Linked DNA regions of Homo sapiens: region 2 is linked to region 1. The links are contacts of gene promoters, found by promoter capture Hi-C in human tissues and cell types (Jung and others, 2019). All regions are on one chromosome and are shown on one strand. The core of a region is centred on a gene start or on the middle of the fragment in contact, and the rest is flanking DNA. Distances in the headings are between cores, read along the strand shown. Region 1 holds the start of DRC1 (dynein regulatory complex subunit 1). Region 2 has its middle 15 kb from the start of GAREM2.

Region 1 (5,347 bases), core at 2,125-4,624:
ATCCACAGAGAGTTTTAAAGATGGCTTACAAAATATGGCATCATTTGGTGCAAAACGAAAGGGCAGCCAACAAGAATACAACTCATAGGTGCTCACCAAAGAAAGCAGCAAAGGATAAATAGGCTAAGGGTGCACGCTGGTAAAGATTCATGCTCCCTTGCCCAATTCCTGAACCTAAGCCAGTGTTCAGAGCCAGAATCTATTGACTGAAGAGGCAGCAGGGTCCCCACAAGGAAGGATCTGGAACACAACGGCAAATATATATTGTAATGATTCCCCCAGTTCTTCCCCAAAGGGGCCTAGGGTCATCTACTCAGGAGGGCTGCACAATAAGGAAAGAGGATACCCAGAAATGTTTAGGATTAGAACAGGGTCTGAGTTACCATTGACACCCAGAGACCCAAAGCATGCTCCCACCCACTTAGAGTGAGGACACAGGGGAGGCAAAGTCCTACTTACAGAGGGTCTGCCAAGTCTGTGGACTCAGCCAGCAATCATGTCTCTAATGGCCAAAAGTATAATTGGGACCTACATACTTAGAAGTTTGAAAAACTCCACTCCTTGGCCTATAAATAGAGCTACCATAGTGGGGAAGGCCAAAAGGACATCTCTGAAACTGCACCTCAGTACACAAAAAAAAATATTGCCACCCAGGGGTGTTGGTGGGGATTAGTGCCACCCTGAAGTATCTCAACGATGCAGGAATGGTGATCCCTATTGAATCTCCTTTTAATTCATGGGTCTGGCACCTGCAGAAACTGGATCCTAGAAAGTGACTGTCAACTACCAGAAGCTCCACAGGTAGCACTCCTGAACACAGCATCTATGCAAGTGTGGTAAGCTTCACTAGAGCAAATTTGTACAGCCTCAGGCACAGTATGTGTGGCTACTGATTGGGCCAAATGCATGCTTTTCTACCTCAATCAGGAAAAATAATCAGGAAGTTCACATTTACATGGAACAGACAATGATATACACTCACAAGTCGGTCACACTCACAGGACCATGGTAGTTCTCCTGATCTCTGTCATAATATATTCTGAATATATCAGGGACATCTGGATATCCCAGAGAACATCACAATGATCCATTACTTCAGCACTGGCAAACTATGGCCTGTGGGACAGATCCAGTCCACCACCTGTTTTTGTATGGCTTCCAGGCAAATAATGATTTTTACAATTTTTTTTTTTTGAGACAGAGTCTCGCTCTGTCGCCCAGGCTGGAGTGCAATGGCACGATCTCAGCTCACTGCAACCTCCGCCTCCTGGGTTCAAGCGATTCTCCTGCCTCAGTCTCCTGAGTAGCTGGGATTACAGGCGCGCGCCACCATGCCTGGCTAATTTTTGTATTTTTAATAGAGACAGGGTTTCACCATGTCGGTCAGGCTGGTCTCAAACTCCTGACCTCGTGATCCCGCCCGCCTCAGCCTCCCAAAGTTTTGGGATTACAGGCATGAGCCACTGCGCCCGGCCCAATTTTTTTTTTTTTTTTTTTTGAGATGGAGTTTTGTGCTTGTCACCCAGGCTGGAGTGCAGTGGCGCTATCTCAGCTCACTGCAACCTCTGCCTCCCAGGTTCGAGCAATTCTCCTGCCTCAGCCTCCCAAGTAGCTGAGATTACAGGTGCCTGCCACCACACCTGGCTAATTTTTGTATTTTTAGTACAGACAGGGTTTCGCCATGTTGGCCAGGCTGGTCTTGAACTCCTGACCTCAGGTGATCCTCCTGCCTTGGCCTCCCAAAGTGCTGGGATTACAGGCATGAGCTACGATTTTTTACAATTTTAAATGGTTTTTACAATTTTAAATGATTTTTACAATTCTAAATGGTTAATAAATAAATGGTTAAAAAAAGACTAGGATGAATAAGCAGAGCACAGGGGATTTTTAGGGCAGTAAAAATATTTGGTATAATACTATACTGGTGGGCTCGTGTCACCATAAATTTATCCAAACCCATAGGATGTACAACACCAAAAAGAAACCCTAAGGTAAACAATGGAGTTCAAGTGATAACGATGCGCCAAGGTTCATATATTGTTACAAATGTGCCCTCCAGTGCAGGATGTTGACAGTAGCTGTGCATGTGTGGGGGCAGGGAGTATATGCGAATGCTATACTTTTTGATCAGTTTTGCTGTGGTCCTAAAAACTGCTCTAAAAAATAAAGTTTATTATTATTTTTTATCAAAAGAAGGCTATTTTGTGATACATGAACAGTATATGAAATTCAAATTTCAGTGTCCATAAATAAAGCTTTATTGGAACACAGTCATGCCCATTTGTTTATGTCTTGCCTGTGGCTGCTTTTGCAATACAATGGCAATTGAGCAGCTAGGAAAGAGGCCATATGATCCGAAAAGCCTAAAATATTTACTATTTGGCCCTTTACTGAAAGGGTTTGCCGGCCCCTGCATTCCACTGATGGCCCCGCAGCAATCAGCCAGGGTGAGCGAGTGATGGAAACACACTGCAGGGCTTGGTAAGACATGTGTGCTCCAGACGGTGGGCAATCAACCCTATGAAGGCCCAGGGACTGCCATGTCATTCAAGTTTGTAGGGGTCCAGTGGTCAGTGGGATGCTGGGATAGCCTATCAAGTAAAAAACAAATCTACTGCATTTTGCATCCTCTACAGAGAAGGAAACTCAATGCCTCTTAGGCCACTTTGGGTCCTAGAGACAATACATCCCGCACTTAGGAATATTATTCAGGCTGACACAAAAAGCTGCCAGCTTTGAGTGGTGCCTGGAACAAGAAAGGACCCAGGCCACAGTGTAAGCAGCCAGGCTACTTGGGCCACATGATCCAGCAGACCCTGTGGTTTGGAGGTGTCCGTAGTGGAAAAGATGCCATGTGCAGACCACAGTCGAACGCCACCACGCCCGATTAATTGTTTGATGTTTTATAGAGATGGGGTCTCTCTATGCTGCCCAGGTTGACCATCTCCAACTCCTGGGCTCCAGTGATCGGCCCGCCTCGGCCTCCCTAAGTGCTGGGATGACAGGCGCGCGCCACGGCACCGGCCCAGCGTTTTACTTTCCCATACTCTGCCTGAACCTTCCCGAAGAAATGTTTCTATTTCATCAGGAAACCAGCCCTTCTCCGGCTCCTGCGGCGCGGATCCCGCCCCGCCCGCCCCCGCGCTCACCGCCTCCGGGCTTCTAAGCGCGCAGCGATGCGGAGGCGCCGGGCCTGGATGCGCTCCTGAGAGTTGTCGGAGTGGACCGAGGGCGCGAGAATCTGGGTGGACAAGTGCTCGTCCACGTTCGGGTCCAGGGCCTCTAGGGACCCCGGCGGATTCATGGCAGGAGTCCCTGGTCCCTAGGCGGCTCCCTCCGCACCACCTCCAGACCTCAGGCTGGTTGCTAGGAACAAACCGTTGCCAGGGAGAGCGGTCACCGGAGCCACAGCCCGAGTGGTTGCGCGCGCAGCTCCCTGGGCCCAGCCTGCCGCCAGCCGCCGTTCCGGCCGAGCATCCCAGCCTCGGGCTGACGCCTCTCCCGCCCGTGGGATGTCAGGTCTGTTGTCAGGCCCACGAAGGCCCGGTCGTGTTAGCGGAGCTGTGGAGTCTCACCAGGAGACTAGAGGACTAAAGAACTGGACCAAGTTGTGGTTCATCACTTGCTGACCCTGATGATTAATTCATCTTCCATTCATTCATCAAATATTCCTCCAACTCATATTCACCAAATAAAATTGAGCGCCTACTCGATGCCAAGCGCTGTGCTTGGATACAGGATACCAACCTGCAATCAAATACTTATGAAAGAGGAAAAGTGGAATAGAGGAAAACAGTCCGTGGGAGGGGGGAGGGATAAAAGTTAGAAATGCGGAAGCACTATTAAATTCTCAACTGTCCCCAGAAAGGCGCTATCTTCTGGGCGTCTCATTGTCAACAAAAATAGTGTTCTCATTGAGAATTAAAACCTGGCGCGCTGGCTCATGCCTCAGCCTCCCAACACTTTGGGAGGCCGAGGTGGACAGATCACTTGAGGTCAGGAGTTTGAGACCAGCCTGGTGAACATGATGAAACCCCGTCTCTACTAAAAATACAAAAATTAGCTGGGTATGGTGGTGGGCACCCATAATCCCAGCTACTCGGGAAGCTGAGGCAGGAGAATCGCTTGAATCTGGGAGGTGGATGTTGCAGTGAGCCGAGATCGAGCCACTGCACTCCATCCTGAGCAATAGAGCAAGACTCTGTCTCAAAAAAACCCAACCAACCAACCAAACAAAAACTGGATACCATTTAACAGGGTTCTGTCCCATTAGCCCGTGGGGAATTAAGGGCACTGGATGAGCAGTGAGAAAGGGTGAGTACTAGTCCTAGCCCTGCCCTGCCACCTTGGGCAAGTCACAACTTCTTGAGGAGCATTTTCTCAGCTGTTAAATGATGCAACCCACAGACAACTGTGCGGCCAAGACGACCCGTCCTTTGTGAGTAAGAACTGCCCAGAGGCAAATGGAGTGGGTTTTTAAAATCAGTTCTTCCACGTTTGCAAGCAGTAGAGAGGTTTAGGAATGCCAAAACCATCCAACAGCTATAGAGTCTAACAGCAGCTGCCTGGATCCTTGTCTCACACCTGCCTAGGTGGTGGTGGTAGGAGCGGGGGTACTTGCTTCTAGGCTTCAGGGCCTTCTGCCAGATCTCTGTCTCCTTTGGTTGAAACCTAAAGTATTAAACTCTCCTAGGAGCCATGATACAGCTCTGACCAAAAACTCGTCCAGGTCCTGGTTCATGTTTCCACTATCCGTAAGGACAGAAACAAGCATGTGTGCATGCGCATGTCTATGCCTGGGAGTGGGATACCATGAGAAAGTCAGGGGGAATCAGCTGTTGCACAAGAGGTAAGTGAGAGCAAAGGTACCATACAAACCCATGAAGAGTGACCAGTGAGATACTTGGCCCTGCACTGTTCTGATACCACTTCCAACATCTTTTTATATAAGAAATCTGACTCCATTTTTTGCTGCTGACATTTGGCTGCTGGCAGCTTTTACGCAGCACTCCCTCTTTCTTCTCCACATCTGGGCAAGCTGTTAAAAAAAGCCTAGGTGCTCTTTTTGGTGCTGGCAGATTTCATCTGCGTGCACAGGATACCCTCCTCCCAGCCTCACCCCTTAACCACAATAAAAGCCCCAAGCTTGTCTCCTTTCCTGGCTCTCTCTAGCCATTTTCTGACCAGCTGGGAGGCCCTCTTTGCTCCCACAGGCAGCCTCAATTATGTAATAAACCTTTTTCACTGGTGTGGGAAACACTTTCACTCACCGCTGGAAAGGGACCTCCTAGGAGGACAGTTTGCCAAAATCTATTAACTGTTTAAATTGGCATACTAGGGTAAAGGG
Region 2 (5,347 bases), core at 1,685-4,184, 240 kb after region 1:
GGGCGAGGTGGCTCACACCTGTAATCCCAGCACTTTGGGAGGCCGAGGCAGGCGGATCCCAAGGTCAGGAGATCGAGACCATCCTGGCTAACACAGTGAAACCCCGTCTCTACTAAAAATACAAAAAATTAGCTGGGCGTGGTGGCGGGCGCCTATAGTTCCAGCTACTTGGGAGGCTGAGGTAGGAGAATGGTGTGAACCCGGGAGGCGGAGCTTGCAATGAGCCGAGATCGCGCCACTGCACTCCAGCCTGGGCAACAGAGCGAGACTGTCTCACAAAAAAAAAAAAAACAAAAAAAACAAAAAAATAAAACCGGTTGAAATAATCCAACATCTTTTCTGTGAGCCAAGTCAATAATTAGCTGGGGATCCAACAGCTTTGCCTTTGTCGCCTGAAACAGATTGTCCAACAATTCCCCTGAAATTCCAATCTGTGCAATAAGACAAATACATCAATGGAGTAGAATAGAGACCTCGGAAATAGATCCACACAAATATAGTCAACTGATCTCTGACAAAGGAGGAGAGGCAATTCAATGGAAAAAGCACAGTCTTTTTCAACAAATGGTTCCAGAACAATTGGACATACATATAACAAAAAAACTAATCTAGACACAGACCTTACATCCTTCACAAGAATTATTTCAAAATGGATCATAGACCTAAATGTAAAATATAAAATAATAGCACTCCTAGAGAATAACACAAGAGAAAATCTAGGTGACCTTGGGTTGGGTGACAACTTACTTTAAGATAAACACCAAAAGCACTCCTCTGCCAATCTGAGCAATAGATAGACCTGGATAATATGCATGGCTCCAAAAGCGTGGTGTAGCTTCCTTCTCCAGATTTAAGACCTGATGTCTTGAAGATGGCAGCAAATCCTAGGAGTTGACACACTGGCATTCCACTGGAATCAGAACAGGAAAAGGAGCGAGATCCCCTAGTTCCTGGGGAAATAGAGTTGTTCCCAGCACAAAACCATAGCATAATTGGTACTTTTTTTTTTTTTGAGACAGTCTCACTGGCTTTGTCACCTAGGCTGGAGTGCAGTGGCGCGATCTCAGCTCACTGCAGCCTTCGCCTCCTGGGTTCAAGCGATTCTCCTGCCTCAGCCTCCCGAGTGGCTGGGATTACAGTCATGCACCACCACGCCTGGCTCACTTTCTTTAAAATTATTTTTAGTAGAGATGGGGTTTCACCATGTTGGCCAGGCTGGTCTTGAACCCCTGGCCTCAGGTGATCCGCCCACCAAGGAGTTTCCAGAAGTTGTGGGAAAGCCCCCACCCAGTCACCTACAGAGTGACTGAACAACTGATGGGAACGCCTTCATGGTCAATTGGATTATCTTTCATGTTATGGTCCTGACCTCACTAGTAAACCCAGTGTAAACTCAAAACTCACTGTGAAATCACTATTACATGACATGAGAATCTCTACTTTTTAATCAAATTACAGATTTCAATTTATTTGTATTGTCAGTGGAATCTTTTCTTCTTTTTCTTTTTTTTATTTTTTATTTTTATTTTTATTTTTATTTTTTTTGAGTCAAAGTCTTGCTCTGTCCCCCAGGCTGGAGTGCAGTGGCACAATCTCGGCTCACTGCAACCTTCACCTCCCAAGTTCAAGCGATTCTCCTGCCTCAGCCTCCCAAGTAGCTGGGATTACAGACTCGTGCCACCACGCCCGGCTAATTTTTGTATTTTTAGTAGAGACAGGGTTTCACCATGTTGGCCAGACTTGTTTCGAACTGCTGACTTCAAGTGATCCACCCACTTTGGCCTCCCCAAGAGTTGGGATTATAGGCAGGAGTCACTGCACCCGGCCAGTCAGTGGAATCTTATTAAGTCAAATTGTTACAGTAGGTAGCTAGTCAGGTATGAGCAGCGCCGGAGAGTGCTCCCCACCAACACATAGACCAGGCGTGTTGGGAGACCTGTCAGGTGATGGTCAGGTGGTTGTTAACTGTTTCTCTTTTTTTTTTTTTTTTTTTGAGACAGGGTCTTGCTCTGTCACCCAGGCTGGAGGGCAGTGGCATGATCTCGGCTCACTGCAACCTCTGCCTCCTGGGTTCAAGCGACTCTCCTGCCTCAGTCTCCCAAGTAGCTGGGACTACAGGCCCGCGCCACCAAGCCTGACTAATTTTTGCATTTTTAGTAGAGATGGTGGGGGGAGGTGTCACTATGTTGGCCAGGCTGGTCTTGAACTCCTGGCCTCAGGTGATCCGCCCTTCTCGGCCTCCCAAAGTGCTGGGATTACAGGCATGAGCCACTGTGCCCGGCCACCTGTTTCTCTAAAGTAATAATTCGTCACAGCTGGTGCCAGGGAAGGACAGTTTCCTAATAGATAGAAAATACCTGAAACTGATCAGCAGCTTCCCAGTAAGATCTCAGGAATGGGGAGAAGTTATAATGCAAGATCCCGGAAGTATGCCAATATATAAAGCCCCAAGTCCAGAGGTCAAGCTGCACACTGGTTTCTCAGGTCATCCCACTTCCCTCTTCCAAGTTGTATTTTCCTTCTTTTTTTTCCCTTTCCTTCCTTTCCTTACTGTTCTAAAGCTTTTTAATAAACTTCCACTCCTGCTCTGAAACATGCCTCTGTCTCTTCTGCCCTATGCCCCTCGGTTGAATTCTTTCTTCCAAGGAGGCAAGAATTAAGGTTGCCGCAGATCCGTACAGATTCACCGTGGGTAACTCCAGGTAACTCAGATATCTTCCATCAGTAACGAAACTGTTTAATTTACTAATGAACCATTGATTAAATTATGTAACACTATTTTTTAAAATCGAGGTAACATTCACATAAATTTACATTCACAACAAATTTAAACTTCATCATTTAAGAATTTAAAATTTAGGCTAAGCACAGTGGCTCATGCCTGTAATTTTAACACTTTGAGACAGGAGGCTGAGACAGGAAGATTGCTTGAGGCCAGGAGTTTGAGACCAGGCTTGGCAATATAGCAAGACCTTGTCTCTACAAAAAATAGAAAAATTAGCCAGGTGTGGTGGTACATACCTGTAGTCCCAGCTACTAGGGAGGCTGAGGCAGGAGGATCACTTGAGCCCAAAAGTTCGAAGTTACAGTGAGCTATGATCAAGCCACTTCACTCCAGCCTGGGCGAAAGGGAGAGACCCTATCTCTGAAAAAAAAAAAAAAAAAAAAAAAAGGACAATTCAGTGGCATTTAGTACATTTGCAATGTTGTGCAATCATCCTCACTAGTTCCAGGACATTTTCATCACCTAAAAGGAAATTCCGCGCCCATTAAGCAGTCACTCCCCATTTCAATCCTCAGCCCTCGCAACCACTGATTTGTTTCCTGTCTCTATAGATGTACCTCTTCTGGCTATTTCATATGATGGAATCATATAACAAGTGGCCTTTTGTGTCTGGCTTCACTCATTTACCATAATGTTTTCCATGTTCATCTATAATGTAGTGTGTATCAATACTATGTTACTTTTTATGACTGAATAATATTCCAAAGTATGGATATACCATATGTGTTATCCTTTCAGCAGTTGACGGACAGTTGAGTTGTTCTACCTTTTGACTATTGTGAATAGTGCTGGTAAGAACATTCTTGTACAAGTTTTTGTTTAAATACCTGTTTTCAGTTCTTCTGGGTAAATACCTAGGAGTGGAACTGCTGGGTTGTTTGGTAATTCTATGTTAGACTTACTGAGGAATCATCAAACTGTTTTCCACAGTAGTAGTTGAACAATTTCACATTCCCATCAGCAACATATGAGGGTTCCAGTTTCTCCGTATCTCCATCAACACTTGTTGTCTTCCGTTTTTTTGTTGTTGTTGTTAGACCAAGTCTTGCTCTGTTCCCCAGGCTGGAGTGCAGTGTGCGATCTTGGCTTGCTGCAAGCTCTGCCTCCCGGGTTCACACCATTCTCCTGCCTCAGCCTCCCGAGTAGCTGGGACTACAGGCGCCCGCCACCACACCTGGCTAATTTTTTTGTATTTTTAGTAGAGACGGGGTTTCACCGTGTTAGCCAGGATGGTCTCGATCTCCTGACCTCGTGATCCGCCCGCCTTGGCCTCCCAAAGTGCTGGGATTACAGGCGTGAGCCACCGCGCCCAGCCTGTCTTCTGGTTTCTAATTTACAGTTTGCCTGTTTGTTGGTTTGGCTTTGTTATAGCCGTCCTAATGGGAGTGAAGTGGTCTCTCACTGTAATTTTGATTTGCATTTCCTTAATGACCAATGATATAGAACATATTTTCATGTGCTTTTTGGCCCTTTGTCTATCTTCCTTAGAAATGTCTATTTAAAACTTTTGCCTTGTGTTTTGTTCTTTGTCTTTTTTAAATTTTTAAAATTTTTTCTTTGTCAATTTTTAAAAATTGTGGGCCGATTGCAGTGGCTCACGCTTGCAATCCCAGCACTTTGGGAGGCCAAGGTGGGCAGATCACTTGAGCTCAGGACTTCCAGACCAGCCTGGGCAACACAGCAAAACCCTGTCTCTACTAAAAATGCAAAAATTAGCCAGGCATGGTGGCAGGCACCTGTAATCCCAGATACTTGGGAGGCTGAGGCAGGAGAATCCCTTGAACTCAGGAGGCAGAGATTGCAGTGAGCCGAGATCGTGCCACTGCACTCCAGCCTGGGCAACAGAGCAAACTCTGTCTCAAATAAATAAATAAATAATAAAATAAAAAAATATGGTAAAAAGTACAAAATTTTAACCTGATAATTTATTTATGTATTTAAATTTTATTTTAGTGGGGACAGGGTCTTGCTCTGTCACCCAGGTTGGAGTACAGTGGCGTGATCATGGCTCACTGAAGCCTCGGCCTCCTGGGGTCAAGCAATCCTCCTGCCTTAGCCTCCCGTACAGGCATGTGCCACCACACCTAGCTAATCTTTTCTTTTTCTTTTTCTTTCTTTCTTTTTTTCTTTTGTAGAGACAGAGTCTCACTGTGTTGCCCAGGCTGATCTCTAACTCCTGGCTCAAGCAATCCTCCCACCTCAGCCTCCCAAAGTGCTGGGATTATAGGCATGAGCCACTGTGCCCAGCCTACCCTCTTAATTTTTAAGTGTACAGTACAGTATTGTTAATTAAATGCATATTGTTGTACAATAGATATCTAGAACTTTTCCATCTTGTATGACTGAAACTCTGTGCCCATGAACAACTCCCCATTCCCTTCCCCCCAGCCCCTGGCCACCATTCTGCTTTTGATTTTGACTTTCATTACATTAGATGCCTCATATAAGTGGAATCATGCAATATTTGTCTTTTTTTTTTTTTTTTTTTTTTTTTGAGACGGAGTTTGACTCTTGTTGCCCAGGCTGGAGTGCAATGGTGCGATCTTGGCTCACCAAAACCTC

The links. Contacts are between HindIII fragments. The study calls those that stand out against the background at their distance.
Region 2: a fragment that was not itself captured here is called in contact with the fragment with the promoter of DRC1 in region 1 in 1 of the 25 tissues and cell types used here (spleen).

The regions. Positions count from the first base shown.
Region 1 is chr2:26,399,947-26,405,293 of GRCh38, reverse strand. It overlaps DRC1 (dynein regulatory complex subunit 1), which reads right to left and starts at 3,374. Exons shown (of 17, transcript NM_145038.5): 1 at 3,150-3,374. The coding sequence starts at 3,304. The HindIII fragment of the contact is 4,401 bases long and covers 1,549-5,347 here.
Region 2 is chr2:26,155,650-26,160,996 of GRCh38, reverse strand. No RefSeq gene overlaps it. Among named protein-coding and RNA genes, the nearest start is that of GAREM2, 15 kb to the left of the region's middle. The HindIII fragment of the contact is 4,116 bases long and covers 877-4,992 here.